Linked DNA regions of Homo sapiens: regions 2, 3, 4, 5, 6 and 7 are each linked to region 1. The links are contacts of gene promoters, found by promoter capture Hi-C in blood cells and fetal thymus (Javierre and others, 2016). All regions are on one chromosome and are shown on one strand. Each heading gives the region's core, a stretch centred on a gene start or on the middle of the fragment in contact. The rest is flanking DNA. Distances are from core to core; before and after follow the strand shown.

Region 1 (4,191 bases), core at 1,225-3,724:
GTTCCCTAAAAGGCTTTGGCTGCAAGTCTATCCAATGGGGAGCAATCCATTCCTTCTCTCCTGCACATGAGCATTACTGCATTTCCTAGGTGAGGGAATATTAGCAGGCTAGAAGTTCTATTTCTGCTTTCGCTATCCTCTGGCTTCCCACTTTAAGCGTCTGTGTCTCTCCATTTATAAAATGGGTCCAATAATGTCACTGAGCACTTTTTTTTCAGAGAAAATTTAAGGGCATTAATGAGATAATGACTACTAAGTATGGTGACTTCAGTAATAAACTGTGGTTTTGGACAGGGTCCACTGCAAGGGCATAATTTTTTAAAAATCCTCAGTGATGTGTCATGCAGAAATCTATCCACTCACTTGTTCAAACTGGAAGATTTCAAGGACAGGAGGTTTGGAATGTTAAAATACTGAATGAGTCAGTGTTGGTTTCTGATGCTCTGCATTTGTCTATTTCAGTCTTTCTTCCCTACCCTTACAACCTCTGACTTCACTGTCTTCCTGGATGCATTCTACTTCCTGCCACTCTAGGGAGATGCTAAGATTTCTGGATCCAATGCCAAGCATAGTAAAAAAGAAAAGTGGTGCCATTTCACTCAGAACTGTGTCTCTCACCCAGAAGGCTCCCCAGCCAGAGGCAGAGAGTATTTTCTTCATCTTGGAGAAGGGGCCCATTGTGCTGAATTAAAAATAAGACAAAGAATCACCATTCTAGGGTCCATTTGGGGTTGGAAAGAGTGAAACCACCCCACCTTGCCTATGTATCTCCCCTGTCTCAACACACTTGAAGAAAGTGACCAGAACCATAAACAGTTAGGGGTTAAATCAAGGGAAGACTTGCTCCTACAAGAAGCCACATCTCTTTCAAGTTCCCTGTAGGATGCTGGCTCCACGGAGACTTGAATGATTGAAGGAAATCCTCAACACCACTTGTTGAATGACTCAACCAGGTAGGTGTGGCCAGGACTGAATGGGGCAGGGGCAGGCCTATAGTGTCTCCAAGACAATACCAAAGCAGATGCAGGGAATTGACTGAACATACTTCAGAGAGGCAGAAAGCAGGAGAGACAGAGTAATACCTTGCAAAAAGTAGCAGCAGTGAAGAAAGAAGTAATAATGAGCTCCTGTTTGCAGAGCCTCTCAGTGCTGGAGGAGAACAGAGTACCACTTCAAGCCCTCCTGAGTCTGGGACAAGTCTAATTTTGTTTCTGCTCACCCTAGACATATAGAGACAAACCTTTATTCTTAGTTGTTTTTCACTGCCAAATGCCCCAGAAAACAGGGCAGAACAGACTTTGTCTTCTTTCCAACCACCCATAGCCAAAGATGGCATAAAAGTGGAGGGTACCTCCTGCCTCCTTGCAAATGTAATATAACCCACACCAGCCAGTCTCTGCAAAGCTCAAGACACTAGCACTTTCCTACCACCATGAAGTCAGAAGGGACCTCAACCCCCCAAAGCCGCCCCAGCCTGAGCTTCACCTGTTGCACCTGCCCACTTACCATGGGTTCACACCAGAAGAGAAAGTAAAAGGTCAGGTTGGGCTCTCTCCACAGCAAGAGCCCAGAGAATACTAGGAAACTGACATTTTACAAAGCACCTCTTTAAAGCTCTCTCAGAGGTGCGTAACTTTTAACTCTACCTCCACTCCCAACCCCCCAGGCTTCCTTTGCAACTCTTTCCCACCATGGATGGCTTGTCGGGAGAGAGTTAAAGAAGGTGCACGACTAATTCCCCAAACCATCTCGCTTATCTACAGACAAAAAGAACAGCCTTACATGGAGACACGCAGAAACCACCCGCAATTTAGCTCAGACCTCACCTGTCTTATGCAACAGTACACACACACACACACACACACACACACACACCCGCAAGGCCAGAGTCCAATCCCCCTTTAATTCGGTAAACATAGTTTTGCGCCTTTCTTTTCCCTACGCAGAACCCGACTCTACTGGCAGCAGAGAAATAGATGTAACCCTAGTGCCAAATGCCTTGCAGAACACACAGATACACAGGAACCAAAATGCATCTCATAGCTCTCCTTGGTGCTGAAATCACGTTAGCCAGAAAATCAAAGGAGCGAGTGCTCTGGACTTACCCAGGCTGGGGGTGGGCGGCCGGGGAGCGAGAGGAGCTTCCTGGGAAGAAAATTCTTGCTTGCTCAGGCTGGAGCCAGCTGATGCGCTCACCTAGAGAGCCCTCCTCTTTCCCTTCTCTTCCCTTCCTCCTATTCTGGGAGGAAGAGACAAGGCTCCACGAAAGAAATGAAACCCAAGCTGTCAGGGCTACGGGTGGAAGGAGAATGAGGAGGCAACCAAAATAAGATCAAAAAGTCAGGTGGCTTCACTCCACTAGTGGTAATTCCTTGGGTCAGAGAGGACCCCCTTCTCTCACTCTCCCTGGGTCTGCCCGTCTCCTCTGGGTGTTGAGCCAACAGCCTTAGCACAGTCGGTTCCTGCCTCTGACGTGAAAGAGAGGAGGAAGCCTGGGACTGCTTTGCTGTCTCTCTCTCTCTCTCTCTCTCTCTCTCTCTCTCTCTCTCTCTCTCACGCGCTCTCTCTTTTCCCCTCTTGCTGAAATTTCAGCAGCATGATTTTTTTAAGCCTCCGTTTTTTCCATCCCCCTACAAGCAGCCCCCTAGTGGACAGAAAAGAAAAGCATCCTAAATCCTCTTGAACAGTCCAGATTCAGGCACAGAAATACTCCCCGCACCCAACTCTTGGAGCTGCCTCTGCATAGGCAGGGTCCTGAAGAAGATAGAGGCTTCCCTCTGACCAACCCAGATAAGAAGAGAAAGGGAGAGGATGGAAGCTTTTGCAGATCCTTTGCCCATGATTGAAGGAGAAATCCAGGGTGGAATGGGTTGGGATAGAATGTTTTGGAATAAGGTCAGTTGTGGGGTTCTCAAGTGGTTTGAGGTCCGGGCTCAGCAGAAGGAACCCTCCAAAAAGTCAGCGTCTGCAGCCAGGTGAAGTATGTGTATACGTAGCACAACCCAGGCATGGGAATGCCTAAAGAGGCAGAGGATACAGGGAGCTGGCCCTTCATCCAACTCCACAATATAGCTTTTTTGTAAAGCTAGTAAGAAAAATATCTGAAAAGATATGGCCTGAGATCATCTCAGAAGTAGAGACAGAAGTGACCTTGATGCACATTTATGGAGAACCTTGGCAGAGAAGGGGCATCAAGGGGTCACTGCTCATAGGCTCATAAGGGATATCTAACATTCTCTTTTAAATGTACAGCCACACAGCCTCCCGGAAAGAGTCCTAATACTTACATCTAAAAATCTGAGTCCTGGTTTCAGACTGCCACTTGCTTACTGGACATTTTGCTTCTCTATGGCTCAATTTTACTGTTTGTAAAATGTGGATAATGCTGCCCCCTCCCTACTGAATAGGAATGCTAAGGGACTGGAATGATATAGAAACATAGAACCTCAGGATTGGCAGGGAATTTAAAGGTAATCTTATACAAACACTCTTCTTATATTTGATTCACTCCTGGCAAATAACAATAGCTAACATTTATAGAGTGTTTATACCAGGTGCTAGGCACTGTTATAAGCCCTTACATGTATTAGCTCATTTAAGCCATACAATAACTCTATAATGCAGAGGCTATTATTGCTACTCTATAGACTGGGAACTGAGTAACAGAGGAATGAAATAACTTTCCAAAGATCACACAACTAGTGAGTGTCAGGGATGGTAATGGAACCTGAGCCATCTGACCCTGGAGCTTCCTCATTGAATTACCATGTTCTATAAATGTACACTTCAGGAGTGACATTTGAAGTAAATAGAAGATAGCACCACAGTTATCATTGCTTTTATTTATGACAAAGTGCCTAGATTGTTACAATAAATTTATATGTGGCTGAGTTTTTAAAATAAAATATTTACCACTAGGGGTGCCAAACAAACTGTGGAAATTGCTATTACCGATGAGAATCTCCTAAGAAAATTAATTCTCTTGGTGATTTGGGTAGTTTCACATATACAAAACTGGCTTTAAATCTTATAAAATTGGAAACTATTGGGTTTTAACATCAGTTCAGAAGACACATCACTCAATTTCTGTACCAAAAGCAAATTATTGCCCACTGCCTAACACAGTGCAAGAACGGAGCCAGCAATTTGAAGAGCTGAAACGTTGTAATGCATTCAGGTAATAAACGCTCA
Region 2 (4,191 bases), core at 636-3,135, 400 kb before region 1:
CACTGGCCTAACGTAGTTTAGAACAAAGGCATTGCCTACTGCAGGCATGGTTATACCAGGGAATGACAATAAATTTCTATAGAACCTATCCTTTACCAAGTGTTTTTATTTCCATTTAATTCTTGCAAGAAACTTGAGAGGACAGCAGATTGGTATAGATATACTTATTTTACAGAGAAGGAAACTGCACTCAGAAAGATTACATGACTCAGATTGCTGGAACTCATATTTTCAGATGGCTTAAGTGCTGTTTGCACTCTACTAAAGCAGGAAATATAATGCATGATTGAATTTACTGAAGATAGAAATCTATGCATACAGCAAAGGATTAATTAATACCTGCATTTATCTTACAAGCAAAAAAACCCCAAAGATTAAAGATCTCAAAAATTTCTATGTTCAAATCAAATATCCATACCCTCTCAAACTGATTTCCTTAATAGCTGCAGAAAAGCTAACTGTCATCTGCAGAGTGTCCTAGAACTCTTCATAGTTCCTGATCCCACCTACCCCTAGAGGCTACAGTTACATTTCAGGAGACAGGTGTGAGCTGTCTCTGTCTCCTTCCCTGCTGATTTGGGAGCACTGCTATTATCTCCTCATTCTTGACCTGGCCTCTGGAACAACCAGCCTGTCTGCCTTTCTTTCTCCCCTTTCATCTCACTGTTTGAGTTTCTCATTTTAGAAGATCAGCAATTAGTGCCCTTGGTCTTTAGCTTACTCCTAAGGTATGCACTAATAGCCCCTTTTCCTGAAGAAAGGTTTCTTCATGCAATAAACTCAGCTTCTTGAAGGAGCCAGAACCCCAAATTTCTTTCCAATATCCAATGTATCCCCAACAAAACATCTCCCCACAAATCTCAAAATGACAGTCTCATACAAATACACATATAAATCTAAACATCAGAATGGGGAAACAAACGATCTCATGCAGGCTTCTTCATATTGATAATGTAGATTGATTTAATATTTATATTACAGATACTTTTTAAAGGCTCAAACATATTAGTTGCTTTAAAGCTAGACCTACAGACAAATACAGTAAACTGAGATGACTTAGACAAGGGGAGTTTTGAATACCTGAATGGCTATCATATAAAATAGTGATTCATTTTTTAAAGTTAGAAAAATAAGAATAAAATTATCTTAAGAAAAAAGTGTTTTCTAAGGGGTGCCAAACACTGGATGGGATAAACGTCCCAGATTACACCCTGGGAGAGGAAGGACCATGCTTTCTTCCTTCCAGGCCGGCAATGAGCTGGTTGGTGGGGTGGCGGGGGGCGGGTACTCCCCAGATGTGCATGAGGCAATGATGCATCGTTGCTGGGTGCGCTTGCCTTCCCTTTGACAAATTGCAAGGCCATTTGGTTGTTTATAGATTCCATTTGCTGTGATTTAGTCAGTGGCATTAATGTAAAGACAACAAGCATTTTGCTCACACAGACTATCAAGAGCAGCAACCTGGGATTTTCACATCTTCGGAACTTGGAGAAGACCTCACATTTACAGCAAAACCATTCCTTTTCAACCTGCTTCAGCCTGCAACTCTAGTCCTTGTCCAAAATATTATTCCTTTTTTTGCAGACAAGAGAAGGCAGAGGCTCACTAATGGTTCTCAGACTGGGACCTTATTAAAATTCAGATTCCTGGTTTCCATAGCAGATTCACTGAATCAGAATATCAGGGGATGGCGCAGGGAATCAGTGTTTTACTGAAGCTTCTCAGACAAGTCTGAAGACCAGCTAGATTTGAACCTTCTCTTTGTCTGGCACATTTTCCTCTTCTCTAGAGGCCAAGAAGTGGAATTGGTAAACTAAGCAATGCCTCAGAGGAGCCCTGTGGTCTGTGTTCTCTGCCCAGATCCTTGTGGCTGTGTGGATGAATACTGTAGATTGAATGTCTGTCTCTCTCTCCCACTTGCCCCCTTTCCTCCTCTTTCCCTCTCCCCCTCTTTCCCTTTCCCAGTAGGTATGTCTTGAGTGGGCTGGTTCCAAGAATTGGATTGAGTGCGATAGGAAGGAGAGGGGATAAGAGATTGCATTTAGCCTGGAGTCTAAGCTTTGTGTCCTAGTATTTATTGTTTTGTTCTGCTTTGGGGGTTATTGGACTTTGCTTAGCTAATAATAAAGAACACACTGGTTCCTGTTCTGCTGTATTCAATGTGAACGTACTGGGGCTTTATACATTTTAGGAGACTGTCAGGGCAAATTTCAGGCCCTCCTAGCTCTCTGGATGTCACACCATTTAATATTATCAGAAACTCGCCTCTGACCCCAACATATATCAGCTCAGTAATTTTTCCCAAAGCAAAATCTTAAGACCAAGAGCAAAACTGGAAGGTTTTTCTTCCTTTTGGTGCAATAACTGGAGCCTAGACCGATGGAGAATCTTTTAATTTTTATTTTTTTTAGCACAGGCTGTGGTGATTACTAAGTTAAGAGAAAAGCCACAACAAGTGCTTGGTACACTGAAATGTCTCATAGTTAAGTGTTTCTAGATGTAATTGTGAGATCAACGGGACCATGGCGTTCACCAGAAGAATTGCTCTGAAATTGGTTTGTTTTGGGAAGTGGAGGCTGAATGCTGAGTGGAGTGGAGCAAGCTACATGACACGCAGTGCAGTCAGGGGACCACCACTGCTGGGACAGACTTTCTCTGTCCTGGCCCTGCTCTTTACTTGTTTTGGATTCTTGGGTGTTCCTTTAAAATGATCAGCTTTAATGGCCCTGGCAAGTGTCTGTCCACTTTTCTGGCCTCAGCATCAGGACTGAAGCCACAATGTCAGCATTTGTCTCTGAAAACAGCCTCAGCAGGTTTCTCTGTAAGCGCAGAACACAGTGTTGCGCCATAGAAGTGCAGGCGGCCACCTCTGGTTATCAACACTTAGATTTGCTTTTTCCCAGAAGCTTGTTTGTGGTTGACTCTCCCTTGTTAGAATCAATGGCGCACATCTGCAGAGTAGCTGGCTAGACTGTCAGGGGCAGCCTAAGTCTGCCAACAGGACAAGGTTACCTGCTCAGCCCACATGGGGTGAGCCACTTGGCTTTCTCACAGCGTCTTCCAGTATATTTACCTGTTTATACTCTTACTAATTCAACAAATATATAACAGAGTGTCTGTTGGGTTCTAAATACTGGGCTAAAAGATGGGAATATAAAGAAGGAAAAGACACAGTCACAACCTTTCAGGCTGCTCATGCTGTGGTGGGAGAAACAAATATAACCTTGAGCTCTAAGTGCTCTGGGAAAGAGATAAACATTGTGGGCTGGCAAAACCTGGATGTGGGCGTGCAATGATGCCTGGCTGGCAAGGACAGGGTGAGAAGTGGGGGCCCGGGATAGGGCAAAGGGTGACAACTGCTAATCAGAAAGTTACTTTAGGAACTGACCTGGATGCTGGCCACAAATTGGTGGAGAAGGGTGTTCCAGACCTGTGCAAAAGTACGGCCCCTTTGAGAAGTTGAAGGTTTAGCAGGAGACAGAGCAAGAATTGGGTGGGATGGAGGAAAGAGAGTGCTGGGGAGGTAAGCAGGGATGGGATCATGTCATTTATGGAGGCAATTGGAGGAAGAGTCTTTTGGTGGACTTTAAGCTCAACTTGTTAGAAAGACCATTCTCAGTGCAATGTGGAGAATGAATTAGATGGGGGTGAGCCTGGAGGCAGGACTCCATTCAGGATGTAGTGGTGGGAACCCAGGAGGAGAGTGACAATAGCCTTTAAGGAGGTAATAGAGTGAGTGGAGAATTAACTGAACAAGACAGCTTTGATGTGTTCACCCTCAACAGAGTTCCGGAAGAAGGTCATCAGGCTCTGCAGACCACCTGCCTTCTGCCCAAGGGCAAGTGCAACAGACATCTAAGACATCTAAATCCTCCCTTCACAGGTCAGCTAAAGGCATCCTAGTACTAGAGGAATGTTCTGACATCATTTCTCTTATTATTCCTTTGATCCACTTATATCAGAAGACCCAATTTCATGGCAGATTAGATTGATCACAGACTGGCAGTTGCAGCCTGGCCCCTGTCTGTGGCTCTTGATTCAACATGGCAAGGGAGGGCTGGGTCCTGATGACACTTCCTACTGGTCTCCCTGCTGCCATTCTGGTCCCACCTGCATTCATTCTCCACACTTTAGCCAGAGTGACCTTTTTATAGTGTGAATGTGATCTGATTTCATCCTATCTTTTACTTG
Region 3 (4,191 bases), core at 481-2,980, 390 kb before region 1:
ACTCAGCAGCTCTTTCCTAGATATCTAGCCTTTTAATATCCATCAGACTTTTCTGGGGCAGATGCATTCCGAGTACAGACCTCTCTTGACCTGGTTCTTCTGCTGTCACCCAGGGTGAGAGCAGAAAACAGACATGTCTCTGCTGGCCAAAAGTTGCAGCTTAGTTTCACTGAATTTGGGCTGTAGTCAGTCCAAATAAGAACAGCTCATAGCTGCCCTGTCCAAAGCCTGTAAGTGATAATCTAGTCCACCACAAGAAAGCTGATCATTTCCACAAAAGTCCCCAGGGATACGGGTATGTAGGTGACCATGTACTCACGAGTAGAAAAGTTGGTGCTGATGGTGCCACTGGTGAGAGGTCCATTGGTGGCATACATGGTGGCAGTATAGTGGGTGCTAGGAAGCAGGTCAACAAGCCGAAATTCCTCACTGACTCCGTCAACAAGGATGGTCTCTCCAGCGACTGAACTCAAATGAATATGAATAAGGGTTGAATAAGGCTACTCAGTTTAGGAAAGATCTACCAAATCCAAAGGTATTTCACATGGATTTACTACTAGAGAATTTTGGAAAAAAATCTTTCATAGGTTATCTAGCTTAGTATCTTACTCTTTGCAAGGATTCCCCTCTCATCTCATATCATAATTGAAAAAAAGTGTTCTTTATGTGCAGGTCAAATTGTCTTCTCTATAACTTCTATTCGTGTCTCTGGAGTTATTAAGGATAAATCTAGTCTTTTGTGTACATGACCCCTTCCTCTCCACCACCCTTCCTAATCAAGTTCTCTCTCCACTAGACTGAGAAAATTCAGCCCCCACTTCCCATCACATTTATGTGACAATTTTAAAACCTTCACAGTCCTATCTACTTTTCTCTGAACACGTAACAGTTTATCAATGTCCCTGCTAAAGTCCAAAACTCAGAGAACTGAGAATAATGGAGAGGTACTGACCAATGAAATAAACAGGGTCAGTCTGTGCTTGTGCCACTTATATTAATTAGTAAGGTTTTGGGAATGCCATGTGATATTGTTATCACATGCCAAGATTATTGCTAATCAAAGATCTTCTTTGTAACCACTCCCCCTACCTCTCAATCCAATTTTGTTAGTTGATTTTTTATACCCATGGACAGAGCTTTGCATTTATTTCTATTGCATTTTGCCTCATTGATTGAGTTTTGGGCCACTGTTTCAGTTGATTAAAATATTTTTGAACTTGGATTCTATTGATCACAATTTTGTTTTATACACAAATTTGGTAAGCATGTCTTCTCTGAATTCATTCAAGCTGTTGATAAAACTGTTCATTAGTTCAGGGCCAACTCCTCTGTTGGGCAATTAGAATACTTGGAAATTATTTAATATTTAACAGTTTACTAGGCACATTTTCAGAATAGGTAGGGCTTTGAGATTTCAAGTTTCTTGTGGTCTAAAGGCATACAAACAAGTTAAAATTCAAACTAATGCTTAAGCTTTGGAAGAGCATGTATAAGGATATCATCTTTTTAATGTCCCCCTTTGCACATCATGCCATTGATTAATGCTCCAGCCATACCAAACTATGGTAGTTCTTCAGACTTCTTACACTCTCACATCTCTGCAAATGCCCACAGTCTGCTCTTTTTCTTGAAATTCCCTTTCTTCTCCTTTTCTTCTTTCACTTTATCTAAGACTTTTCTTCTTTCTTTCCCTCCACACCTTGACCCTATTCATAGTAGCCCACTGGACATGGCCCATGGTGTTCTGTGCATGTCTATAGCATACACTGCTCACATCAAGTTGTAACTATTTACTTCTCTGCAACATCATTAGAAGTGAGTTCCATAAAGATGAGAGCTCAATTTTTGTTTCTGAATCCTTATAGCCTTATAGAGTGTGTGGCACATGGTAGGGCATCAAAAGTATTTGTGGAATGAATGGAAGTTCATTGCTCTGTTAGAGCTGTGTGTTTAGTGTCTGTGAGCAGATGTGTCTGACTGCCTTCAGGGAAGCTTTGACAGAAGAGATAGGGTTGAAACCACGACTTGAAGGATGGGTTTTCTAGGCAGGCAAATGGGGGAGTTTCCTGGTGAAAGAAATAGCATGTGCAAATGCATGGAGGCTTGAGAAAGCATGGTGATAATTAAAAAATGCGGGATCATGTTATGAAAGGAGGGGTGACAGGAATTGAGATGGATTGTGCATGCTCACAGAGGGGTTAGGACATACCCATAGTAATGCTATCCCTTCTTCATGGAGGGTCATTCATTCAGCTACAGTCCCAGCTACCTCCAAATATGACCTTTCATGTATTTTTCCATGTTAACTAAGGACTAAGTGATAAGTGGGGTTTTCTGATGCCTTGCTGAAATACAAATGTACTAGCAGGTTTGCCAATGAAAACAAAGACATAAAGTAGTTTCGATAAAACTTATTCTTGGTGAATCTGTGCTGCTATATGGTAATCACTAATTCCTTTTCCAAGTTGTTTAATTGTCTGTTTTAGTTTTTACCTTCCTAAGCTTTGACAATAAGTTTACTTCTTTGCAGCTCACAGAATTAGCTTTCTCTGTCATTTTTGAAAACCAAGACATCTGCCTGCCTTCTGTCTTCTGGTATCTTTGTTCTCTGGATTCCTGAATATAACCCAAAACAATTCTGTGATCACATGTTTGATGAAGGCAGGGAAATAACTTCCCTAAGCCTAGAGACTTGGAGGACTCAACTCTATTTTGCTTTGGGCTTCTCTGTTCTGTTCAACTTCAAATGGTGTAAGGTGAACAAGCATGATACAGAAGACAGTGAACTTCAAGATTTCGTGTTAGTTAAACCTGTTGGGCTGGATATGAATAGAGAAGACAAAAACACGGAAGAGTTTAGCAGTCCTGAATCTTTTGTCACCTGTTAGCCTGTACTCTCTGTTTCAAACTTGGTCCTATATCTTCAGTGTTTTTCTTGCTCTGCGAATATTTAGAAAAGCCTGCTTTCTTGTTTGTAGCATTTTGGGGGCAAGTCTTAGCTCTGTTCTGAGTTTCATCTTCCTAGGGCTATTGCTCTGTTTTTGTACTTGCCCTTGGTTACATGCCTTTCTTGTACCTTTCAGATTCAGCTTTCTCAGCTCCTAGATTTGATACAGTTTGCAGAGTTTGGGGATATCTTCTTTTTTTTTTTTTTTTTTTTTTTTTAGATGGAGTCTTGCTGTGACTCCCAGGCTGGAGTGCAATGGCGTGATCTTGGCTCACTGTAACCTCCACTTCCTGGGTTCAAGTGATTCTCCTGCCTCAGCCTCCCAAGTAGCTGGGACTACAGGTTTGCACCACCACTTCCGGCTAATTTTTGTATTTTTAGAAGAGATGGGGTTTCACCATGTAGGCCAGGCTGGTCTTGAACTCCTTACCTCAAGTGATCCGCCTGCCTTGGCCTCCCAAAGTGTTGGGATTACAAGTGTGAGCCACGATGCCCAGCATAGAGTTTGGGGATATCTTGAGGGCTTCATAGTATACCTGAAGTAGGAACTTTTCTAATCTGTCCTTCAGATTGAAAAAATGTTTTGTTTATTCACATCATACTGGTCTGCAGCTCCAATTCCCACCATTCCCACCTGCCTGATCTGCAGGCCTGCAGACACCCACCTGCAAAGTGTGTAAGAACAATGACGTAGTTCTCCACCTCACCCACTGGTGCCTTCCACTGCAGCAGGGCTTCTGTTGGAGTGATATTGGTAGCAATCAGATCCACAGGGTTGTCCATGGCTGAAACAGAATAGATTATCAGTTACAGATAAGAGGAGCTGCAGGATAGAAATGCAGGGAATGATCTCAGAAGTTCCACTCATGGTGCAAGACTGCTGCTGCACTCTACAAAACAAAGAAGTGAGCAGAAACCTCTTCCCTTTCTCCTCTTCTGGTTCCATCAGCCTCTTCCATTTCTCCCTGCCTCCCTTCTCTCAAGTATCCAGTTCTCCCCCAGTCGCCCCCAGCTCTTCCTTTTAATTAATTCAATAACTTCTTATGTGCAGAATACTGTGCCAGATACTAAAGAGGATTTCAAGATATGGCTGGAATGAATTTTCAACATTTAAATCTAGATGGAGCAACCAAGAACCCACAGAAATTGTTATAATTTTTTAGTTAATGAGATAATCATACTTCCCAGGCTATTTGCACTTTTATAAATGTAAGGGTGTGCCTCATGGAAAGATCTCTGTTGAA
Region 4 (4,191 bases), core at 618-3,117, 360 kb before region 1:
GAGTGCTAAGAAGTGAATGGAAACTGGCAAGATGAAGCTGCCGGACAGAATGAATGGAACTCTCTCAGGAACAATATCAAATTTGACCACTAAAGCTCCCTAAAGTGGGGAGTAACCTGGGAGTGGAAAGGGAAGCCTGCATTGGCTAGATGAAGAGGTTCCCATCAGGCAGAGGGAACAGCATTTGCCAGTCCTATATAGCAGGAGGGAAAACGTATTTGAGAAATGGAAAGAAGCAGACTTGTGGGCCTGGAGCCCAGAAAACATCAGGGAACATGGGTGGGAGGTGAGCCTGGAGAGGGCAGGGGAAACCAGGCAGGGCCTGGTGTCCACACTAAGGGTCTGGGCTTATCCTAAGAGCAGTGGGAATTCCCTGGAATATCTGCACAGTGCAATGGCATAATCAAAAATGTACTTTGAAAAAGTCACTGGAAGGCCAGGTGCAGTGGCTCACACCTGTAATCCCAGCACTTTGAGAAGCCGAGGTGGGCGGATCACCTGAGGTCGGGAGTTTGTGACCAGCCTGACCAACATGGAGAAACCCTGTCTCTACTAAAAACACAAAATTAGCCGGGCGTGGTGGCAGATGCCTGTAATCCTAGCTACTTGGGAGGCTGAGGCAGGAGAATCGCTTGAACCCGGGAGGCAGAGGTTGCAGTGAGCCAAGATCACACCACTGCACTCCAGCCTGGGCAATAAGAGTGAAACTCCGTCTCAAAAAAAAAAAAAAAAAAAAAAGTCACTGGAGGAGGTGTGAAGAGTGGGCCAGGAGACAATGTGAGGGGGTTATTGCAATGGTTAAGATAATAGATGAGAACCTGGGAGACAGAGGTTGCAGTGAGCTGAAATTGTGCCACTGCACTCCAGCCTGGGTGACAGAGAGATTCCGTCTCAAAAAAAGGAGATGTTAGTAGCTTAGAACAGGTGATGGCAGTACAATGGATAGTACTAGACATATGTGCTAGGCACTTAAGAGATGAGATCAATAGGAATTGGCCATGGGTTTGTAAGATGTGTAGGTTGGGGAGACAGCTGTGAGGGTATAGACTCAGCAACCAGCATAACCCCAAGAGATAGGTCTTACTCACCTGTCAGGGTGGCCCTGGTGGTTGGACCAATGCCCCTGGGGACCAGTACCTCATGATATTGCTCACCCGCCAGGGTGCTGTACACAACCTTGTACTCCTGAACTTCGGCTTCACTGTTATCCCACTCGAGGTCAAGGCTGGTTGCTGTGCGAGAACCAACTCGCAAGTTCTTGGGGGCATCGATCTCTAAAAATAGACAGACATCACCAACATCGCACATGATAATGTAATGTACATTTGTGGTGCATCTTGAACTCTGAAAAGATTGGTGGTGACAGCCCACACCCCCTGACCCTCTGGCTCACATTTGAATGAACACTGTGGCTACCCTTAGCTTTTTGGTCTGCTGTGACAAATTCCTTGGGCAGGTTAGAGTGATACTTGGGAGCTGAAGATCAATACACTTTATGCTTCCCCCATTTCCATTCAAGAGTTCCAGTGGCATTCTAGAAACTTTAAAAGGAACCAGTCAACATCATAAGCTTAAAAACAAAACAAGGGAAACCCCAGGAGGAGAAAATCAGAGCCAGCTCCCGAGTGATGGAGATGGAATAGAACAATATCAAATTTGACCACTAAACAAAAAGAAGACTGTTGATTTCAAGGTTTTGAAGTGTAAGGTGCCTTCCTCTGTGTTTACTTGAATAAACACAGCTGTAAAGGTAAGACATATATGGAGGATGTGATGTAGCAGAAATAATATAGGCTTTGGAGTCAGGCTTCCGTTTGATCCCCAGCTCTGACATCTTTGGTAATGGAACCATGAGCAAGTCTTTTAACCCTGCTTGGCCTTGATGGCACCTCTGTAAAAGGGGCAAATCATACCAACATTTTCAGGTTGTTGCATGGATTAGGCAATCCATGGGCATCTGTACAAAAATAGGTGCCCAGCGCCTGTAGTCTCAGCTACTTGGGAGGCTGAGGCAGGAGAATGGTGTGAACCCGGGAGGCGGAGCTTGCAGCGAGCCGAGATCACACCACTGCACTCCAGCCTGGGCCACAGAGTGAGACTCTGTCTCCAAAGGAAAAAAAAAAAAAAAGGTGCCCAAGGCCTGGGCTGGCTTCCTGTTGCCTCTGAAGCTTTTCCTGAGTTCCATCAACCACAATGCTTGTTCTCTGCAGTTGCCACAAAGAGACGACGGGGACACTGCTTTTTTTCTCCCAGGACTGGCTATCTCCTCAAGCTGCTTTGGGCAGAAACAGCATAAACAACTTGCAGTGCAATAACGTGCTGCCCGGAACAACTGTCACTTAAAACGTTTAAAATAGTTCTTGCCTTTGACACTTGAATTTAACTTTGGAGTGAACTAGCCATTCATTGTGAGAAAACCTCGAGTGGACTGTTTTAATATGCAAAAGCAAGGCAAGTTTCCACCAATTGTTCTTGTGGAAGACTGAAATGCCGTGAATCAATGTGAGCGCAGAGGCTTTGGAGTGAGAAGTGTTCTGTTTAGCGATGTAAATTGGGTGAATCTTTTAGCAGATTTATGGCTCTGCAGCTTGTTTTCCTGAGAAATTCTTCCTCACTCACTGTACTTTAGCTTGCCAGATACTATGTATTCTTGACGTGTTATGTGTGTTATTTCTCCAGCAGTTGGATGGAGAGAGGAGCTTGGATAGAGAGGCATGTGGAGGAACACCTGCCCCTGCATTGTTGCCCCTAAATTTCATGCATGAGGAGAAGCTGGGCAAAGGGACTGGACTGGGCTTGGGGTGTGCAGCTAGAACTGAACTGGGGCAAAATTAATTTAGGTTTAGGGTTAAGGTTGAGACTTCTACCTAGTGCTCTTCACAACTAAAAACCCAGGCCTTGGAAATGTTAAACTATGGTTTTTGTTGTTGTTGTTGTTGTTTTGTATTTTTGATCATAGGGGTTGTGGTCTGTAGATTAAGGGGAAGTGTTGTCTCTGAAGGGACCAGATACCTCCAATGTCAATGATCCTGAAAGAAGTCAATCCTGAGAATGAGGTCTGGAAAGGTGGTTGTTAGAGCTAGGACAAGGTGAAATTGTTTGCTCCCTCTGGCCTTGAAGTCTGACCTCTAGGAGACTGGGGCCACCAAGGGCACCCCTGTAGGTGGGAGCTGTTCCCTGCAACGTCAGCAAGTCAAGAGCGAGGCAAAGACAGATGTCTAGTGGAGGCTGTGTGGAGAGACTTGAGACTATGGAATAGACATATCTAGCCACTAAAACATAAATTAGATTAAGTAATTCCCTTGCTTAAAACTTTTCTGTTGCTTCCTTTTACAAACTCCTAATTGTAGCCAGCAGGGCTCTGAGTGATCCGGCCCTGCCTGCTTCTCAGATATCTCCATGTACGACTTCTAAACTTATTCATTGCGCTCTAGCTATATTGCTTTTTTTCTGCTCTTGAAACTCATCAAGCTTATTCATACCTCAGGACCTTTGCACTGGCTTCTGCCTTTGCCTGGAATGTTCTCCAGATCCTCACATGGCTTAGGTCATCTAGGTCTCAGTTAAAACGTTACCTTTTCAGAGAGGCCTTTTCAAACCGCTTGATCCAACATGGCCACGCTTCTGTACCGTTTATTTCGCTTTTCATTATAGTACTCATAATCAAAATAATTTTGGGTGTTTATTTTCTTCTGCCTTGTCCAGTTTCTCCACTGGAATGTAATTAATGTGAACCAGGATCTTGTCTATCTGTTTATTCTGTAGCCTCAGTGCCTAGAATAGTGCTTGGCACCTGGTAGGTGTTCGATAAGCACACATCAAGTTGTAGAAAAGTCTTGTTAAATATTTCAGCTGTGGAGCATTGAGAATGCTTGGGGTGAGAAGGTGCAGAAAAAAGGATAGCTTTGACTGAGGGTGCTGGTCTTGTATGAGCAGGAAGTCCTACCCTGCTCTTTGCAGCCAGATTCTTGGCTGAGGTGCAAGTATCATCCAGGTTGAAATTGTGAAAGAATTTCCTGAAGAGTCCTAGAGCGGCATCACTGCCAAGCAGCTAGGGGCTTGAACTGTTGGGACTTGGAAGTTCCTATTAGTTTCCCAGGGCTGCCATAACAAGGTACCACCAACTGGGTGTCTTAAATAATATAAATTATTGTCTCTCTGGGCACGGTGGCTCACTCCTGTAATCCCAGC
Region 5 (4,191 bases), core at 765-3,264, 340 kb before region 1:
GTTAGGTATTTAACAGCACACCACTGGCCAACATTTTTGGTGGTTTAATAAGTTATCGTCATCAGATTACCCTGGGAGCCAATATCTGATTTGGCAAGTGGAAATAAAGACTCATTCCTGATTATCTTGCAAATTATGAGAAGCCAAAACAGTAAGTCCTGGATACCACGGCCTGATGAAGACACTCAACAGCCCATTATTGTAGAATTTTCCCTTTTAAAGACCACTTATGTTCTGAAAGAAATCTAGCTTGTGTTAAACTAATTTTTATTAGCCTCAATCTTGGAGATGATGATGATAAAAAAACATTCTTGAGGACCTTGCTTTACTTTCTTCTGATTTCTCAAATGCTACTTGGAGTCACCAAAGGGTAAAACACAGAGAAATAGACTTTTGTGTATCGTCTTGGAAAATGAAGATTCACCAGTGTTGTGGCCATTAAATAATCAAGCCTTTAAGACTAACTAAGAGGCTAACTCCAGTGTGTCTGTAATTAGACCTGCCCATAGATTAAATCAAAGATCAAGCCGATATTTAAATGGTCATTATTAACTTATAAATTTATATGTAGTGGAGGCTTCGATGAGTTTAAGAGTTGTCATAGGTTTTGAATTTCTCCCCTGGGTAATCTCACCCCTCCCCTTTACAACCAGGTAGGCTGAGGCCAGCTGTGTTTTGCTGGACCTTGTGAGTGGAGAGTGCTGTCTCCTCATTGTACTCACATGTGCACCCTCAAATCCTCAGCAAAGACAGAGACACAAGGAGACCTTTAACAGATCCAAGACTCACAGGATAGAATCAGCAGCATATATATGCACTGCTGGACATTTGCTTCAATTACTTTTGCCTAAAACCATTCATTGAATAAAACAGTCTAGAAAGCAGAGCTTCTTGAGGATGGCAAATGTTGACCAAAACAAAAATTAAAAAAAATTTTTGTTTAAAATTTATAAAACTCAAGAAGTGTAAACGAAATTTAAATAAGCTTTCAAATGATGTTTTATAAACTGTATCACCTATAGTTTTGACCTTATTAAAGCTTTGAATTTCACTAAAACCTTTGGGACAACCTATATAACACATACAGAATGACTCCTAGGCCATGAGAAGAAGAGTTGATATTTAGAACCTGTCAGGATTTTGCATGATTATACTGAGCACTTATTATGTACCAAGTACAATGCTAACCACTTTTACATAGATTATTTCAATTCACCCTCTCACCAACACCATGGGATTAAGGTATCATTATTACTACCATTTTATAGATGACGAAATTGGGCCACACAGTCAGCAAACATAGAAGCTAGGATTAGAATGCAGGCAGAATGACTATAAACCTTCTTAGCCAATATACAATACCACTTTACATTTATATAGCATTTCACAGTCTATAAACTATTTTCATATATACCATCTAACAAGAATTTAAAAAAATATTTAGTAGCAGTCATATGAGGTAGTTCATGTAGAGATAATTATCCCAGCTTTACCAATGAGGAAACTGAATCCCAGGTTAAGGGATGTGCCAAAAGTCAGAGTGGGTCATAGCAGAACTGACTGTCAAACCCTGATGTTCTACAGTTTTCATTCTTTCCCCTACAATTTAGACAGCAGGTTACAGATTGCGCGAGATGCCTCCTTTCATTTATACATGGTGTCCCAAAGTAAACTATATTAGGAATAATTCAGACGATCTTAATAGGTGTGATCTCTAGACTGGTGCTCATCCTACAGGTAAGAAAATTCTTTTTAAACAGGTTCTCTAGTGCCTGTCTCCTGTGATTCAACACATTAACTCCAGGTTTCCTATGCAGGACTTCTGTCATAGTGGCAGAAATGGCCACTCCAAATTTCAAGTCACCAGCAATTCTTAGGGCATTTGGAACAAATCAGCGTATTCCTTTTTGCTTCCTTCTTCAAAGCTAATATTAACAATAGAGGGTGATCTAAGAAGAGCATTTTGGGATTTTAAAGCAAAAAAAAGAGGTGCAGAAGGATTTTTAAAAAAATCTTGGCAACTTAGCTTGAGGCCTGAGCCTGGTGGTAAAGTTGCCTACACTTCTGAATGAGAAAGCAGCAACTGGCGTCATTCCTCGTGGAAGTGGTCTTGACAATGGTGGCTCAATGGAGGAGACCACCACCACTTTCACTCTAAATTAGCAGCAACTATGTACACTAGGCATCAGTAATCCTTATAAAAGAAAATTATATTGAACTGTACTGCAAACAATCAAAGAGCCTCATGCCTTAATTCAATGAATTCACGGTGGGTGCAAAGTATTCTTAGCCTTACTTTCTTTGGGGTGTCAACTTTGAAACTTGAGGAAGAGCATGCTGTTAAAGAGGAATAAACTGTGGCTTGAGGAATCAGGGTTGCTTATCTGCAAAGATGCCATGCTGTTTCCTCTTTAGATTTTGCATAAATGTTGCACTTATGTGGTGAGAGCAGTTGGAATTAGTTCCATGATGTGTCTTACTCCAAAGAGTAAGTGGTTTCGGGTGCCAAAGGTTGGGCTGGCTGCAGTCCTGACAGAGCAGAGGCTGACACTGATGAATCTCCGCAGGTCTGACTGAAGTCCAGGAAACAGCTTTCTGGATTGTCTCAAGACCCTGTTCTGATGGTTCTTTTATCCTGCTGGCTCCGGGGGAGTTTTGGCCAGCTCCCTGGCCAGCCCCAGCACTAACCACCATCACTGGGGACAGATGTGGACAAATGGTTGAATGTGCTTTTCCACCCTACCTCTGACGTCTCATTTTTTTAATCATGTGATGGAGCTCAGCTTTCATATCAAAGGCTACTTCTTTGTGTATATGGCTTTAAAATTTTTATTTTTCAATTCTATTCTACTTTGCATTCCAGAGAAGATAAAAGAGTGCTAGAAGCTGGTAGGAGACCAGGATTCTTTTTCTTACTCCGCCATTAATTAGCTGTCTGGCTCTGGGAAAATCTGTCTCACTGACTGCTGCTTTTTAAATCTGTAAAATGAGAAGCTTCTTTCTAAGGCCTGTTTTAAGTTCTCATATTCATGAATGTTTTGTTCTATTATCTGTACATGGGCAGAGAATGGAGGCAGAAGTCTTGAGATTTTGTCCCTTGGCACACTATGAGGATAGATCAAGGCTAGGAGTCAAAAGTAGTGACCTTGGCAACACTATTCAATTGTGCTTAAGTGCTGCAGACCTAGGGGGCCTCAGAATGCAATCCACACAATGGGCAGCTATTTTCTACGCCCTTGCCAAAGAGAAAAGAATGCCCTATAACGAAGTATATTTTGTGGCTCTCAGTGTTTTCACCTTCCTAACCCTTCTCTCTCCTCTCCTCAGTCCCATGGGCAATGGGAACATCGTGCTGTGGTGTGTGCACCCGGCCAGGAACGTCAAACAGTGGATAAATAGCCCCTTCTCCTACAGTCTTTTCACAAAGAGCAAGCAAAGGAGCACTTTAGATAATGACCTAGATACTTCTCTGGAAGAGACCTGTAGCACTTGGTTTAAAAAGCAGGCCTTAAGAGCAGACCTCCTGCAAATGAGTGGTGGCTCTAGGGTTGCTATAGAAACAGATGGAGATTATGCAACTGTCCTTCTTCACATGCTTTGGGAACCTGTAAAGTAATTTATCTGGGCCTATTGAAGTGTTCCTCAAGCAGCACAGAGGTACCATGTCAGAGGTAACGTGCTCATAGTTTGGACTCAACCCAGTTGTAGCTATGCTAGCAGCTGCTGAGTCTTCCCTGAGGTAGCCAGGAGGGTTCAGTGTAAGTCCTGGATTAGATCAAGATTTTGTTTGCAAATGAACCTATCCCTGTAGAAAGGCAGGGTCAAGAATATGACAGGTATGTCCAGACCGCCAAAGAGTAAGTCTACTAAGAAGCATGTGCGCTACAGAATAGCATTAACACAGCGATGGCCCACACTGACCCTGGGTGTCCTCCAGATGGGGTCTCATGGAGCCTCATCCCCTGGATGGAAACTGGAGCCATTTGTCAGCCTGGCTTCCCAGAAGGTGCCTAGTGACTTTGGATTCAGAAACAATAAGGCTTAACTTCTGCTTGAATTTCACTTTGGGATAATTGGTGTGGTGACAATATTTTTAGAAAGATATTTCAATTCAGTAAACAAAATTGGGAGGCTAAATGAAATAATTGGATATGGAAAAAATTAAGGAACATTAAATTTTTTTCCCTAAGC
Region 6 (4,191 bases), core at 636-3,135, 330 kb after region 1:
ACTCTCAGCACTTAAACTGTTTGACATGAATAGGTATGATTTTGAAAAAAATTAAGCATAAAAATATTCTAGACAAATATACGTGAATATATAACTGATCTTAGGATCACAGAAAGATTTTCTAAATAAAATGGCTAGAATTTGGTTTTAAAAAGTCTTAAGAATGTATGGCAACTGCCTCCTGAGGAAGGTTATTCTACCTCAGCACACTGCTGACTACAAAGATCTTCCTTATATTAACCTTAAAATGTGGCTTCTAGACGTAAGTTCTACTTTTATTTCTTGGATACCAAACACTGGTTTGTGACAAACCTTCACAAGTCTACTAAAATTTTAAATGCTAACCTAATTAATGCTTGTTTTGTGGATATGTGTAAAATTATTTCAGCTTATGGCTTCACTCTGTACTACTGACAAGCCTCTAATAAAGGCAAGGGAAAATAAACAGGAAAACCAAGTCGAGATTAGAAGAAGAAAATTTTAGGGTAGAAGTTATGAGGGTGGGAATACATGTAGTGACTTTCAAAGTTTAAGCTTAGATTGTTTGTGTTTCCTTTTTAACCTTTATTTTGAATCATGTATGTTTTGAATTACCATAGAAGTAGAAAACTCACCAACACTTGCTGACAATCTTGCATTCCTTTTTAAGTTGTTAACATGAATTTATATTTCTGTCACATGTCATTGGTAATTCACAAACTTCTTTTATAGCCTAAGGATTATTTCTTCAAAGGAATATTTTTCAACAAGCAAATATGTGGACATATATGGACAAATGCTAGAGTCCTACTTACTCTGGATCCTCTCCCAGCAGGTAAAACAAATTTTCATTCATTCATGCATTCATTTAACAAATATTTACAGACATAGGAATATGCAAGAAATAAGACAGGTAAGGCCCCTGCCTAGATGAATCTCTCAGCCTAAAACACAGCTTTAAAAATAACTGCTTTAAAAGACTGATCCCAGGCAAAATTTGGGAAGGAAATCCCTCCCTCTGCACTCCCATTCATCTCATTTCTCAACCAACCCCAGATGGTCAATAACGCTTAAGACAATAATGGAAATACCTTCTGACAAAAAGGGAAAGTACATTGGCAGTCTTAAAAATCATATCCATTCCTTAGAAAACAAGTCAATAATTATCTAGAGATGTCTTTTTAAGTATAAATTTAAAGCTCACAAGCACTCTACAATAAGGAACATATTAAAAGTTACCCTCAATCTGGATCCACATTTGCTGCAATTATAAATTGAAACTTAGCAAAAATGATCCTTGTAACTATCATAGAAACATAAAGTTTAATTTGAATAGTTTCAAACTATGGTAAAGTGACATCTAAGGTGCAGAATTATACGTCAAAAATTAGTATAAAAAATATTCATTATTTTGACCTCCTTATAGGAATAGGGATACACAGTGTCAGAACCTCAAAAGAATTAATTCCTCTTTTTCTTCTGGGTGTCTCAAAGGAAAAGTGTTTTCTGAAACTTTACAAAGTTTCAATAAATCCTTAAGTGAATAGAAGAGCACTAGAATTCAGGTACGCCTGTATCCAAATCTCAGTTCTGTCTATTATTGGCATTAGGTTTATCTTGGACAAGTTACAAAATTTCTATCTCAGTTTTTTTCATCTGTAAAATGAGGTTAATAGCAATATCTTGCTACCCAGGGTTGATACAAGGATTAAATGAATTAGGGAATTGATGTAAAATATTTATGATGTTGTCTAAAAATGAGTAGGTAACACACTCCACATTACCAGTACAGAGACTATTCTAGCATCAATGAATGCCACCATAGATAACTATTTTCTTCTTAGGAATTTACTAATGCTTGATACAACTCCATTCCAACAGTTTGAACAAACATAAGTAAAAATATTGAAAAACTCTCTAGAGGTAGAATGTTTAACAATTTTTACCATAACAATCTAGTTGTACAAAATTCAAACTCGGAATTCAAAAGACAACCATCACTACTAAGTATATTAAGTTTAAACTATACAGTTTCAAACTATTTCTCTCTGGTGGACACTGAACACCTAATAGAATAAAAAATGCAAAATATGCTATTATTGCTGTGTGTAAAAAGAATGCAATTAACTGTCTTCTTTCCTGTTCCTTGCCATTGCTAACCTAGGACCATCTTCTACTTATGAGAGTGAACTTCACTGTATGTCACCAATTCCGTACCTTGTCTATTGTTTAATAGTCGAGATACTGTCAAAGTAAACAAATGCTGCCACCTTGTGGACTGAAGGGTATGGTCTTAACTCCAAATAAGCAAAGGAAGAAAAATACGTTTCTGGTTCGGCCTTTTCTCTCAGATTATCACTGCAGTAAGTGACCAACATTATGTCATGCAATTTTACAGTAAGAATAATTATCTCTTCTACAAAGTAACAAAATAATGCACCAAATTCAACATTATCTGCCTTCTCAAATACTTGTTTAGGCCTCTTTGTTTGAGACAGAGTCTCATTCTGTTGCCCAGTGCAGTGATCTCAGCTCACTGCAACCTCTGCCCCTTAGGTTCAAGCTATTCTCCTGTCTCAGCATCCCAAGTAGCTGGGATTACAGGCATACGCCACCATGCCTGGCTAATTTTTGTATTTTTAGTAGAGATGGAGATTCACCATGCTGGCCAGGCTGGTCTGGAACTCCTGGCCTCAAGTGATCTGCCTGCCTCGGCCCCGCAAAGTGCTGGGATTACAGGTGTGAGCCACCTCACCTGGCCTCTTTATTCCTCTTTCTGAAAGAAATTAATTAAATTTCCTTTTTTGGGAGGAATTAGAAGGCGTTGAAGTAAATTTATTATCAATGATGTGTTTGAATATAAGAAAGTAAGAAAAGCAAAAAATCAACAGAGCTGTGAGAGTTTTTCACACCTTCATTTCTTTGGCCATATCATCCTTTCTTGCTAGTCTTCATCTCTCATGCCTAAGAAACTTTAAAATTGGAATTTTTTCTTTAAAAAACATTAATTTGGTGTAATTAATAGAAAAAAAACGAATGTAGCATGCAAGACGGCCCAACCAGAGGTATCTTAAAAATTTCTTATATTAGTCTAAATGTTTTAATCTAACCACAATTTGTAAGTATTTCCAAACTAAGATCTTGTTTAGGTCTTCCTAAGAATGTATTTCTGCCTCAGAATGCACAATGTTTTCACATAAATGTCAGTATGATTAGGGTTTATTAGCAATTGTAAAAAATTCAACACTACATTAAATCAAGCTTTAAAAAAGCAATAATGAAACCATCTCTTCCCCAAAATCAAGCTAAAATGGCTTTCAGGAATGAAAAAAAAAAAAAAAGATTATTACTCTTTGTATAGTCACATAACTACAGGTAAGTGCATACATATCAGGTCAATATTATAAATAAACTTTGATACTTATTTTTGCCATTTCACATTCAATCTACATTTCTGAAGTCCTTAAAAGCATAGTATACATTCTTAACATAGTTAAGAATTTAAGTAAGAATGCTAATATGTTGCTCCAAAGTAAACTGTTTCATAAACTATTCTTTTATTTCTTATCTATAAGGGCCCTAAAATAAGATTGTGAGCTCTCCTGAATCCAAGTAACACGTCTGGCCTGTTCATGACTATATGCCTAGTCTGGCCTAGCCTGCACTACGTTATCAATGATTTTTTGTTAATTAAATTATGTAATAAAATGCACCCCATAATCTGCTGCATTTTCAAATTTTACTCAGTCAAGTGCCAACATACAGAAAAATAAAGGAATGTATGATTTTTGTCTTACTCATTACTGAGTTAAACAGCTGACAGAATACAATAAAAGATCTCCTCCAATAGTTTCTTTAGCTAATGGCTTAAATTTTAAGATCTTCATATACATAATAAATTCAAATCTTAGTCCTGTAAATGAAAAGCATGTTAAGTTTTAGCAATATTTGACACGTTAAAACTTACCAAATTCCCGATATGCCTCAAAAAACATCTTTTTAGGGTTATTCGTTCTAAGAGATTTGAACACAAAGTAGCAATTTGATTATACCAAGGAATTACTGTTAATTTGCTTAGATGTGATACAGCCCTGTGGTTTAACAATGTCCATTTTAAGAGATGCAGATAAGTTTCTGAGATTTGCTTTAAAATACTTAAGCATATACACACCCAACACTGGAGCACCCAGATTCATAAAACAAGTTATTCTC
Region 7 (4,191 bases), core at 451-2,950, 310 kb before region 1:
TATATAAAATATATTATATATATATTATATATATGAAACCAAAGTTTCACAGAAGAATATTTACCTTTACTAAATGCCATGGATTCTAAAATCTTCTGATCCCTAGTCTGATGTGTTCTCCATTGCACCACTGACCTGCACAATGCCATGCATTCTAATATAATTTATTTGTTCTATTCTCCTTAAAAAAAAATACAGGTTGTCACCCACTTAATAGGTTTCATGACCCACCAAGACATAACAACCCACAGCTCAAAAATCATTGCTCCAGAGCAGCACTGTCCAATGACTATACAAGTCAGTGAGTGTGAGCCATGTATGTAATTTTAAATTCTCTAGTAGCCACACTAAAGAGGTAAAAATAAGCAGGTGAAATGAATTCTGATAATATATTTCATATAGCAAAAAATTTTTATATAGCTAAATATTATTATTTTGACATGAAATCCATATAAAAATTATGAGTGATGTATGTTGCTTTTTTATACTAAGTCTTTGAAATCTGGTATGTATTTTTACACTCACAGCACAGGATTAGGCACATTTCAGTGCTCAATGGTCCCATGTGGCTGGTGTCTACAGTGTTGGGCAGGGTAGCTTTAGAGGCTAGTTCATGAAGAAGAACCAAGTGTTTATCATGGTTTATTTTTTATTATTTTTTATTTTTTATCATGGTCTTTACAGGTATATGAGAAGTGTTTTGTTTCCTTCCTTCCTTCCTTCCTTCCTTCCTTCCTTCCTTCCTTCCTTCCCTTCTTCCCTCCTTCTCTCTTTCTTTTCCTTCCTTCCTTCCTTCCTTCCCTTCTTCCCTCCTTCCCTCTTTCTTTCCCTTTCTTCCTTCCTTCCTTCCTCCCTTCCCTCTTTTTTCCTTCTTTCCTCCCTCCCTTCCCTCTTTTTTCCTTCCTTCCTTCCTTCCTTCTTCCCTCCCTTCTTCGCTTCCTTCCTTCCTTCCTTCCTTCCTTCCTTCCTTCCTTCCTGTCTCCATTTCCCAGGCACTTCCCTCCCAGCACCAAAAAATGCATTACAGCAGAATGGGTTTCGGATTGGTGTCTAGATTTTTAGATAAAAATCCTATCTTTTTGTAGCTTTCAGGAACAGTTGAGGGGAAAGTTAAGAAGATAGACATTCTACTTCTTTAAGTAACCTCAAGATGTGTAAGTTGGTGAATTCAGCAAACAATTATTGAATAGCTATTATGTATCAACAGTAAACCAATGCCTTGGCATCTAAGGGAATTTTTAGGGAAGCTTTTCATCAGATCTAGAAGATAATTTGGTTAGGGCTTGTCCCTCTTTGTCCTTAATGGTCTTCCTTTTTAATTCTTGCTGTACTAGAGGCTGCGTATCCCTGTATGCCTACTGCTGACCAGCATCTCCTACTCATGGCGTAAATCTGGTGAGACATGGCTGAGGGAACTGATATAAGCTACTATGGCTGGGTTTCAAATCCTGCTAAGTTTATTATTGTTAATGATGACAGGACTTGCAGCTGACATTTACATAAGCCTTCAAAATTAAAACTTGCTTAAAAATACATCATCTAATTCAATTTTCTAAGCAACCCTGGAAGTCGAAGTTATTATTGTCATCTTCATATTATATATGAGAAAATTAAAGCTTAGGGAGGTTAAGTAAATTGTTCGAGATTACACATTTGTTCAAATCAACATATGTTTTTTGAGCACCTACCAGGCATAATATTATATGTTGGCCATATAACATGGAATAAAGTGTCCACCATTGGTTGAATTCTGACTCAAATACAAATCTCTTTAGTTTGAATTTCAAGCTTTTTTCCCCCTGTGCTGCACGATTCTCATTTTACGTAAGTGGAAATGCTCACCAACTACTCTTAGTTTATTCTTGGTTTGACATGACTCATTTGTCTGTCATCTATCATCACTTACTTAAACAATTAACTGGATATCCAGGGATAGAATCCATTCTGCTTTCCCCATTTAGGGACTCCCTTTAAACTCATTTGGGACCTGAAAAATTGGCACCCCTCCCTTGGGTTTTGAGTCTTCTAGTTATACATTTGGTCCAAATAAAGCAGAAATCAGAGCCAAGGATTTAAGAGTTTCATCCTTCCATTTTATAGCTCAGTCCTCAGAAGGATATTTTCATGGTGCTCTAGAATATTCTATGATATGGGTTGTGATTAGAAGCAAAGCAAAGGGAGAAAAAAGTATCTGTAAGGGGTTCCTTGTGTCAAATAAATTAAAGAATCATAGAATTAAATAGCATTAGATTTCTTTACAGAAGAAATTTTCAGTCTTTAACATGCAAACATGATTTGTGAATCATTAAGATAGATATAGATGTATATGTAAATATAGATTTAGAATTGATATATAGATAAAGATACAGATTATAAATATAGATAAATGCAGAAATGGGAGGCAGCATCAAGTGGTATTAAAAGAACAGATTCTAAACCTGGACTGCCAGAGTGAATCCTGACTCCAATAGTTGCTCTCTTGTTTCAGTTTCCTCATCTGTGAAATGGGCAAAATAGAGTTGTGATGATTAATTTAACTAATACCTACAAATCACTTAGAACAGAACCTATGACATGATCAGTGTTCAGTAACTACTACATGAAAATACTAGTATCTAGCTGAATTTGGCATGCAGAGAATCCTGAATGTAAAACCAAAGGGCCTTCTTTTAAATAGCATCTTATGAGATTAATATTACATGAAACACTCTTTGTAAAGTGCTTCCCAAGGATGTAGAGCACAGGTTGGAATAGGTGGAGAAACTGGGTAGGGTCTAGAATATGGAAGAAGAGTTTTGTATAATGTCACTGATGGAGGAAAGATGTTTTCTCTGGAAGAATTTGATCCTTGCCATTGTAGTCTCATCACCAAGAAGGCACAGGTTGGTAGCCCAAAAGCCCAGAAGCCCAGGGTTAGCAAATAAGTGATATGCGTGTCTTTACTTCTGAGTTTTCCCTCATGACAGACATTGCTAATTGATCACAGCACACTCGCCTGCCAACCTTCTCACAGTACTTTGTGCAACTTTACAAAAATGATGGAATATGTATGTGAGATACAGCCTATTTTATATCTATTATATAATATATCTATTATATAGATATAATATAGATAATGATAACATTATAATATAGATAATGATATTATATCTATTATCATTTAGTGGTGAAAAATGTGGCAGTACTTCACCACAACTGTTTCTGAAACCCCAAGCAATAGTTTGGACAACAAATTCTATTGCACCAACAAATTCTCAGCCAGCTTTGTTTAGAATTGACTCTGCTTAGAGCCTGAGGAAGTTAAATAATGGCCAAAGTAATGGCAGTCATAGTAATAGTAAAAGTGAGAAAGAAATTGCTGAATGGTAACCTAGATGACTCTTAAGAATTAACTCCTTCAGTAGGAATTAAGTCAGGCATCCTGTAATCAGAATTAGACAACAATCTAAATGAGAACATTTGTTTTCTCATATTGCAGGCTAGGAAGATCATTCTAGTGGTTGAAATCATGCTATGTCCTGGAATATTTCCCACTACTCTCACTCCCATCTCTATGCACTTTCAATGAGTACAGACTCCAAGACATGGAATCAGAAAGCAGAATTTAGAGATCACCTTACACCTTTTTATCTGACAGGTGAGAAAAACCAGTTCTTAGCGGTAGAGCTGAGATTAGAATGTAGGTCTCCTAAATCCTGGTTCCATGCTCCTTCCACTGTAGAACCTTCCTCCTTCAATGCTGGCTGATACTTCTCCTTTACATCCAAAGATAACCATGTTTTTCACTGAAATATTTCAAGTTTCTTCTCTGCTTTCCTCTCACTGTCTTTAGATAAAACTTGTTTTGATCTACCATATAGACAAGAGGGCTCAGGGAAACATCATTACTTAAAGGAAAATTATTACTGCAATAATGGGTTGTTTTATATTTTGTAGTAAAAAATATAATTTTCTATGGAAAGGAAAATTTTGTTTTAACTATTTAAAGTATTTTGGAGTCTATCTGAGGTCCAATTTGGGCATCCTTATGTTGCATATCTATACATGGGCTAGGGGAGATATTTGACCTCATCATCTGCTTTTTCTCATAACAGTACCTATTCCAGGGACGGAATCTTTCACGGCTCCACACAGGGCCCAGGGAGCAGCCTGTGTTTTGCATAATCATCTGCATGACATTCAGCACTGGAC

Evidence for each region. The method cuts DNA at HindIII sites, captures the fragments that hold promoters and counts their contacts. A CHiCAGO score of 5 or more calls a contact.
Region 2: a fragment that was not itself captured here is called in contact with the fragment with the promoter of TNR in region 1 in 1 of 17 cell types (total B cells); the score reaches 5.0 in total B cells.
Region 3: a fragment that was not itself captured here is called in contact with the fragment with the promoter of TNR in region 1 in 2 of 17 cell types (erythroblasts and naive B cells); the score reaches 5.8 in erythroblasts.
Region 4: a fragment that was not itself captured here is called in contact with the fragment with the promoter of TNR in region 1 in 4 of 17 cell types (erythroblasts, megakaryocytes, naive B cells and 1 more); the score reaches 6.5 in erythroblasts.
Region 5: a contact is called between a fragment that was not itself captured here and the fragment with the promoter of TNR in region 1, in 3 of 17 cell types (naive B cells, erythroblasts and total B cells). The highest score is 6.0, in naive B cells.
Region 6: a fragment that was not itself captured here is called in contact with the fragment with the promoter of TNR in region 1 in 3 of 17 cell types (endothelial precursors, megakaryocytes and erythroblasts); the score reaches 12.1 in endothelial precursors.
Region 7: a contact is called between a fragment that was not itself captured here and the fragment with the promoter of TNR in region 1, in 3 of 17 cell types (total B cells, naive B cells and erythroblasts). The highest score is 6.6, in total B cells.

The regions. Positions count from the first base shown.
Region 1 is chr1:175,741,121-175,745,311 of GRCh38, forward strand. TNR (tenascin R) reads right to left here and starts at 2,475. Exons shown (of 23, transcript NM_003285.3): 1 at 2,106-2,475. The HindIII fragment of the contact is 6,381 bases long and covers 1-2,816 here.
Region 2 is chr1:175,338,950-175,343,140 of GRCh38, forward strand. The region is part of intron 18 of TNR (tenascin R); the gene reads right to left. Among named protein-coding and RNA genes, the nearest start is that of KIAA0040, 150 kb to the left of the region's middle. The HindIII fragment of the contact is 341 bases long and covers 1,716-2,056 here.
Region 3 is chr1:175,356,000-175,360,190 of GRCh38, forward strand. It overlaps TNR (tenascin R), which reads right to left. Exons shown (of 23, transcript NM_003285.3): 15 at 3,613-3,732; 16 at 320-463. Among named protein-coding and RNA genes, the nearest start is that of KIAA0040, 170 kb to the left of the region's middle. The HindIII fragment of the contact is 519 bases long and covers 1,472-1,990 here.
Region 4 is chr1:175,378,464-175,382,654 of GRCh38, forward strand. TNR (tenascin R) reads right to left here. Exons shown (of 23, transcript NM_003285.3): 9 at 1,089-1,274. Among named protein-coding and RNA genes, the nearest start is that of KIAA0040, 190 kb to the left of the region's middle. The HindIII fragment of the contact is 598 bases long and covers 1,569-2,166 here.
Region 5 is chr1:175,397,419-175,401,609 of GRCh38, forward strand. The region is part of intron 4 of TNR (tenascin R); the gene reads right to left. Among named protein-coding and RNA genes, the nearest start is that of KIAA0040, 210 kb to the left of the region's middle. RefSeq lists an enhancer at 2,906-3,434. The HindIII fragment of the contact is 1,955 bases long and covers 1,038-2,992 here.
Region 6 is chr1:176,071,487-176,075,677 of GRCh38, forward strand. All of the region lies in intron 11 of COP1 (COP1 E3 ubiquitin ligase), which reads right to left. Among named protein-coding and RNA genes, the nearest start is that of MIR1843, 110 kb to the left of the region's middle. The HindIII fragment of the contact is 2,706 bases long and covers 533-3,238 here.
Region 7 is chr1:175,426,955-175,431,145 of GRCh38, forward strand. All of the region lies in intron 2 of TNR (tenascin R), which reads right to left. Among named protein-coding and RNA genes, the nearest start is that of KIAA0040, 240 kb to the left of the region's middle. The HindIII fragment of the contact is 172 bases long and covers 1,615-1,786 here.